2 separate regions of the Homo sapiens genome follow, and region 1 is linked to region 2. Evidence: promoter capture Hi-C in 16 types of primary human blood cells and fetal thymus (Javierre and others, 2016). All regions are on one chromosome and are shown on one strand. Each heading gives the region's core, a stretch centred on a gene start or on the middle of the fragment in contact. The rest is flanking DNA. Distances are from core to core; before and after follow the strand shown. Region 1 holds the start of KMT5C (lysine methyltransferase 5C). Region 2 holds the start of ZNF428 (zinc finger protein 428).

What was found. The method cuts DNA at HindIII sites, captures the fragments that hold promoters and counts their contacts. A CHiCAGO score of 5 or more calls a contact.
Region 1: a contact is called between the fragment with the promoter of KMT5C here and the fragment with the promoter of ZNF428 in region 2, in 1 of 17 cell types (naive CD8 T cells). The highest score is 6.4, in naive CD8 T cells.

What each region holds. Positions count from the first base shown.
Region 1 is chr19:55,338,550-55,341,921 of GRCh38, forward strand. KMT5C (lysine methyltransferase 5C) reads left to right here and starts at 1,327. Exons shown (of 9, transcript NM_032701.4): 1 at 1,327-1,408; 2 at 3,245-3,372. RefSeq lists enhancers at 1-245, 246-1,019, 1,329-1,398 and silencers at 1,419-1,478, 2,724-2,903. The HindIII fragment of the contact is 2,060 bases long and covers 824-2,883 here.
Region 2 is chr19:43,617,072-43,620,960 of GRCh38, forward strand. ZNF428 (zinc finger protein 428) reads right to left here and starts at 2,558. Exons shown (of 3, transcript NM_182498.4): 1 at 2,487-2,558. LOC105372411 (a long non-coding RNA gene) reads left to right here and starts at 1,990. Exons shown (of 4, transcript XR_001753942.2): 1 at 1,990-2,561. RefSeq lists an enhancer at 1,917-2,567 and a silencer at 2,372-2,611. The HindIII fragment of the contact is 4,307 bases long and covers 387-3,889 here.

The DNA of each region.
Region 1 (3,372 bases), core at 77-2,576, about 12 Mb after region 2:
CTCACACACACACACACACACACACACACACACACCAAAACACCAAAAACAGCACACCAAAACAGCACCTACTCTGTGGCATGCATTGTTTTAAGTGCCCACGATCTATAGCTGTACAGTGGAGCGCATGTCTGACAGTGATCCTATATGTGTAGACACACAAGCGCCTACATTGTGTTACCGGACAGTAACATGCTGCACAGCTGTGTGGCCCAGGAGCCGCCGGCCACCTTACAGCCCAGGTGCCAGCAGCCCTGCCACGTAGGTGTGAGTGATGTTGCTCTAGGATGCTGGCAGGATGACGACATCGCCTGAGCACGCACTGCCCAGATGGTATCAGTGTCGTTAAGGGAAGAATGGCTGTGGCGAAACAAACAAACAAGCAAACAAAGACCGCCTGTTCTGAGTGTGGAGCTTATTATTCTCGGCGTAATTATGATGAATTGTTAGTTACGTTTGCCTCTAGGATTGAGGTAGGGGGGGTGATCCCAATTAGGGGGTGCCCCAGGGGAGCGCCCCAGGAGTCAGGGCTTGTCTCAAAAGTCCCCACTCCTCCCTCAGCCTCCCCTCCCTCCATCCGACCCCGTTCATATCGCGGGAAGGTCCCACAGAGTGCGTGTGGATACTCCCAAAACGCAACGGTGTAAACGGGGAGGGAGGGAGAGAGACTGAGGAGCCCTTTGTAGCCAGGCAGAGCTGTCAATAAAGTTTCGTCGCCTTGGTAACCGCAGGCCTCGCGGGGCGGGAGGGGAGAGGGATGGCGGTGCGCGCGCATTCACCGCCTCCCTCCCGCCGGGTCTGGCTTTCTCCCTCCTGTGGCCGAAGCTTTCCTCGGAGAAATAGAAGAGGGAGGCCGCGACTCTATGGTGATGGACGGAGGCCTTACCCAATGGAAAGAGGAGCTGTCCCAAGGCCAGGCAATCATATACGACTACTGGAGCTGGCAGAGCCCGCCCTCTTTCCACTTGGACCTGAATAACCCGACCCAAACCGAGTTTCGCCCGGAGAGACTGCGCTTTCGGCCAATGAGTGCGTCGATTTCGAGCCCCAGTGTGAGCGAAGGCGGGACAAGTCTCCATGGCAGCGACTAAAGGACAGCGATGTGAACCACTGACAACAGTTCGCGGCGTTTGACGGCGGCGGGGGCGTGGCGGGGTTTTATCTGTGTATTGACGAGAGCCGGGCGCGGAGGGAAAGAGTGGGGCTTGGCCAATGGGAGCGCCGTGAGCTTCGTAGCAACGGAGGAGTGGCGGTGGCTGTGGCCAATAGAAAGCCTCAGTGGCCTTGGCGGGGCTGGCCCGGAGAGCAGATGGGAGGTGCGGCGACAGTGTTTGACGAGAGCCGAAGGAGGCTGTGGGAGGTGTTGGCGGCGGCGGCGCGGGCGCCTGAGGAGGAGGAGGAGAAGCGGGTGAGGGGCGGCGCGGGGCCCGATCTCTGAGCCCCTTCACGGCCCCAGCCCCGCGCCGCCTTGGCTCCCCAGTCGCCCCCTGCCCCGACTGCCCCCCACCCCGCCCGGCCCCTCCTCGTGTCCAGGCGCCCACGTCTCCCGGCCCCTCGCCGGGCCTCGGGCTCCGCGGCACTGCAGCCTCCTTCCTGTGCTTCCTCACCCGGGCCCTGACCCCCTTCTTACGTCCACGGCCCTCCCTGCATCCTCAGGGCCTCTCCCTGACCTCTTGTCACTCTCCAGGCCTCTCCCTGCACCCCCCAGGGCCTTTCCCTGACCTCACCCTCCAGGCCTCTCCCTGCACCCCCAGGTCTCTCCCTGCACCCTCAGGGCCTCTCCCTGACCCTTCTCTCACCCCCGGGACCTCCCTGCACTCCCAGGGCCAATCCCCGACCTCCTCTCACCCTCCAGGCCTCCTTCTGGACCCTCTAGGTCTTTCTGTGCCCTAGAACCTCTCCCTGACCCCTCTGTCCCTCTCCTGGCACTCCCTGGACCCTGAGGTCGGCCTCTGACCCTCCAGGTCCCTTGCCCTGGGCTCTCACCGCCTACCCAGGCGCCTCCCTGGGTCCCCAGGCCCTTCCCTAGGGTCTCCCTTTCCTGGATCCCCCAGGACCCCACCAAGCCCGTTTGGATCCCTGGGCCCCTGTCCGCCCTCTCAGGCCCTTCACTCACTGGACACCCAGGATCTTCTCCGCCATCCCTGGACCGCCCCCCGACCCAGGTCTCCCGTCTGGCTCCTCCCTGAGTCCCTAGGCCATTCCCCGCTCTCTGTCCTCCCTGGCACCCCCATCCCTTCCTCACACCCCTCTGAGCGCCCCCAGGCCCGGCTGCAGCCTTCTCCCTCCCACAGCCCCCTGCCGTGCCCACCGCTGTGCGTTTCTCTCCTTGCCCCCAGCCCCCTCTCCAGCTTCCCCGCTGTCCCTGGCGTCCTCCTGCAGCGCCCCCTCTTTCTCTCCCGCAGCCTCGCAGTCTGTCCCCGACCCCTCCACAGCCGTCTCTGCAGCTCCCGCTCCTTGCCCTGCCCCATCTCCTCCTCTCCTGGGCGCGGATGAGCCTCGAGCGCCGTGGTGCGGGGACGAGGCTGGCCCTCCGTCCGGGTTAGGGGTTTGGGTGGTTTTCTTCATCTCTCCGTTCTCTCCTGGCTCCGCTTTAAAAAAATGTTTTTGTAAATATTGACCTGTGCTGCCTCCCCATAGTCTTCCTTTGCTCCCCTCCCCACCCCCGCTTTTGTCCTCTGAGCCCCCCTCCCCTGGAATCCTTGGAGAGGGAGCAGGTGCTGGGATCCCTCCCCTGCCCTCCCTCCCGTCACCCGCCTCCAGGCTGCCTGGGGCTTCACCCGGAGCCTCCTGACCACTCCCGAAGGCTGCCGGGGAGGCAGGGGGCGGAGACCGAGGCTGGGTCGAGGTGGGGGTGGAGGGCGGGACCTCGGGCTGGCGGGAAGCTTTGACTTTTCCTCCTTGAGGGCTAGAGGTGAAGCGGCTCCCCACGGTGCTAAGCCTTTAGGGTGATCCCGGCTGCCAATCAGTCAGCCTTCTCTGGGCCCAAAGAGATGTGTGTGTGTAGGGGGTCTCTGTACATATGGGCAGGGGCATCTGCGTGTGTCAGTCTGAGTGTGCATGGGTGTGCATGTGGGGGTTGTGTGTTTAGGGGGGATCTGTGTCTGCGCTGCGGAGCAAGAGCAAGAGCTAAGGCGATGGCTGACATGGCTCTGGGCTTTCCCTACTCTCAGAAGTACTTGTTGCATTCCATCTTCGCCAGCGGCCTGGTGAAGTCAGCACTGCTTTTCTCCCCATTTTGCAGATGAGATCGTGGGGCTCACCAGCGTCCCCCATGGCTTCTGAGTAGCGTGGGAGTGGAGTCAGCACCAAGCCAGGCTCCCCGCGCCTGCCTTGCCCTCACCTGCTCCTGCTCTCTGCCAGAGGCAGCAT
Region 2 (3,889 bases), core at 1,308-3,807:
AGGCAAGAGCCACCACGCCCAGCCCTCCTTCCCCCTTTTTGGCCTGGAGAACTCCTTTTCACCCTTCAAAGCCCACCACAAACATAAGAACCTCTATACTTCTTGCCCGCTGAAATACTGCCTCTGCCAGGAAGCCTTCTGTGACTTCTCTCTCTCCCTCTTCACCAACGGACCGCCCCCGCCCCCCACCAACCCCACCACACACACACACCACTACTGTCTTCCACTGTACTCCCTGACAGTAGAGAACCAAGCAGGGCCAGTTGATGCAGCCTCAGCTATATCTCTTACATGCCAAGGCCCATGCACTGGGGATACAATGGTGGAAAATACATGGTCCCTTCAAAGTCTGGATGTCAAGTTTAATGCTGGGGACTAAAGAGAAAAGCTTCAGATTGAAACCTGGAGGTGGCTGGGGCAAAGGACCATTGGCATCATTGGCAGGGCAACTTCCTAAAGAAAGCACCTAAATCTTGGCTTTTAAAGACAGATTTCATAATTGGCAGAGGAGAATTCTAATGATACCCTATTGCCTACAGGGCCCCATCTAATTTGGGAATTCTACTTTATACCAAGATAAGATTGCCAGATTTAGCAAATAAAAACAGAAGACATCCAATTAATTTTTTTGTTTGTTTTTGGGTTTTTGTTGCGGAGATGGTGTCTCACTATGTTGCGAAGGCTGCTGTCAAATTCCTGGCTCAAACAATCCTCCTGCCTTGGCCTCCCACTTCCCAAAGTGCTGGGATTACAGGCATGAGCTACCACACCTGGCCCTTATTTATTTATTTATTTAATTTTCTTTTTTGGGACGGAGTGTCACTCTGTCGCCCAGGTTGGAGCGCAGTAGCGCGATCTCGGCTCACTGCAACCTCTGCCTCCTGGGTTCAAGCGATTATCCTGCCCCAGCCTCCCAAGTAGCTGGGACTACAGGCGCGTGCCACCATGCCCGGCTTTTTTTTTTTTTTTTTTTTTTTTTTTGAGACGGAGTCTTGCTCTGTCGCCCAGGCTGGAGTGCAGTGGCACGATCTCGGCTCACTGCAAGCTCCGCCTCCTGGGTTCACGCCATTCTCCTGCCTCAGCCTTCCGAGTAGCTGGGACTACAGGCGCCTGCCACCACGCCCGACTATTTTTTGTATTTTTAGTAGAGATGGGGTTTCACCGTGTTAGCCAGGATGATCTCGATCTCCTGACCTCGTGATCCACCCGCCTCGGCCTCCCAAAGTGCTGGGATTACAGGCGTGAGCCACCGCGCCCAGCCTACTTATTTATATTTTTTAAGAGACAGGGTCTCGCTCAGTTGCCCAGGCTGGAGTGCAGTAGGGTGATCTGTAGGAAAGGGGCTTCCAGGCCTTAACTCATGTACTCCCCCATAACCAGGTTGGGAGGTTAGCTCACTGTAACCTCAAACTCCTGTGCTCAAGGTACCCTACTAGCCCCTAGGAGAGCAGCTGGGACTACAGGTATGCGCCACCATGCCAGGCTTAATTTTTACTTTTTTTTTTTTTTTTTTTTTTTGTAGAGACGGGGGTCTCACTATATTGCCCAGGCTGGTCTTGAACTCCTGGTCTCAAGCGATCCTCCTGCCTTAGCCTCCCAAAGTATTGGTATCACTGCAACTAGCCCAAAGAATTAATATAGCTATGTTCCATGTGATATTTGGGACATACTTTTCTAAAAGGTTGTATCTTTTGGATATAATTGTTTATCTGAAATTCAAATTTAACTAGACATTGTATATTTTATACGGCAACCACACACCTGGGACAATCAAGACATTCCCTGAAGTTACCAGGAGACAATGCCCATCAGCCTACACTTTTCCAAGCCCACGTCACACAAGGCCCCTTCCAGAGTATTCCAGACGTCAGGTAGGGCCATCCCTTGGTTCACAAGTCCCACTCCTACCACGCCTATGGCAGCCAAACTGAAAGGCAAACACAGTGCTGGAGACCCCACAATGCCCTGGGCCTATAGCAGTCAATTCCCAAGATGCCCCGCGTGAACACAATAGGCACCCGTTCCAATGCTCGAGCAAAGAGACCAGGGCAAAACCTTCCACTACGGGACAATAACGGCCAGTTCCCACAATTCGTTGTGGCAGTTCTTCCCAGGATGCCTTAGGCCTATAGCGACCACCTTCCCAGACTCCCCGTGTGGAAGCGCTCCAAGCCTCCAGGACGGTCAGCGGCAGGTGTGGGATAAAAGGAACCGGTCTCGACAAGGATCTGGGACACTCTTTCCCAGGATGCACCAGGCCTACGACTAGCGGACCGACTCCCACAGCGCTTCAAGGCGGAGCGCTCGGTTCTCCCAGGATGCCCCAGGGCGGCACAAACGCGTAGGGGGAGAAAAAGAAGCCCTCGGGTCACCACGGCCCCAGACCGCCGGCTCCCCGGTGACGGGAGTCGTCGCTCCCATCATGCAGCGGGGCCGTAGCGCCCGCTTCCCGGCATGCCTCGCGCACCCCTGCCCGGGACACTCACCGGCGCCGGCGGCCCCCGCTCCGGCTCTGCGGCGGCGGCTGCACGCCCAGCCTCTGCGCCTGCGTCGCAAGTAGGGTAGGACAGCGCGCAGGGGGCGTGAAGAGCCTAGGGCGCTTGCGCGGCGAGACGGACTAGTCCTGTAGCGCTGTGGGAAGAGGGGCTATGCGCGTCGGGCCGTCGACGAGACCCGCGCGGGGGGCGCCGTGCTTTGCCCCTCGCTGCCTGGGTTTACTTGGTACAGCCCGCGGCCCAAAGGAACAAGAAGCTGAAGGGTTCGCGCGTGCGTGTGCGGGGCAGGAACGCGCCTTACAAAACTGGGATGCGCTGGGGGTGGAGGGCGCTAGTTCGGACTGGATCCTGGGCCCGAGGCCTGCTTATTTGCATAATCCTAGCGCGGGACAATGAAAGGCCTCCCGCACTGGAAGGAGTGATTTGCATATTCCCCGGAGGGGCCTTACTCCAGAGCGCAGTGATTAGCATATGGCGGGGGCAACCTGAGCAAAGCGCATGCGCGCAGGGACTGCAGACTGACGCGAAGTGGGTAGCCTTGTCTTCGTAGGGGATCAGTTTGCATCCTGAGAGAGGGCACGAGGGCCAGGACCCCTCCCAACCAGGATAAAGGTTTATTGATCTCCTAGGTGTCAGGCCCCATGCTGGCGGATTCTGTGGTTTCTGCAGTGAACCATACTCCTGTACTCACGGCACCCCAGTCGAAGGAGATACGCACCTAATTAGACAACTACTACCCAGAAGGTCAGACCTGGAGTGAGGAACACAGGGGGCTGTGGGAGCCTAAGAGGCGCTTGCCCCGGCCTCTGGTTCTAGAAAGACTTCCAGGAGGTGGTGATCCTTAAGCCAAGTACGAATAGGAGCCAACTAGAATGGGAATGGGTCTGGCAGAATGAACTGCAAGCGCCAAGGCCCAGAGGCCAAAAAAAAAAAAAAAAAAATAGAAGCGCATGTTTTGATTGAGGAAGCAAGAGCAGCTTAGTATGCCTAGAACCTAACTGGAGACGGGAAATGGTTCTATAGACGATGTTAGAGTTCAACTATGGCTACATTCCAGTCTTCCTGTAAGTGACTTTGTCACATTCTGGCTTAAAACTCCCCCAAAGGGATCCCATTAGGAAAAAAAAAAAATCCAAAAATCTTTATCATGGCCTCAGGGCTATACACCTGGTCTGGCCGTGCTTATCTTTCTGACCCCACCTACTTCCTCCTCCCTCCATTTCTGTCCAGCTCCACCTTACCCCAAACTCTTTACCAGCTCGGGCCTCTGCTCTTGCCGTTCCCTCCGCCTGAAAATGCTTTTCCCTCTGACCTTTGAATACCTACTCTTGTGCTCACCATTCATATCTTGGTACAGATGTCAATCTGAGAGGCTTTTCCTGATCTCTCCATAA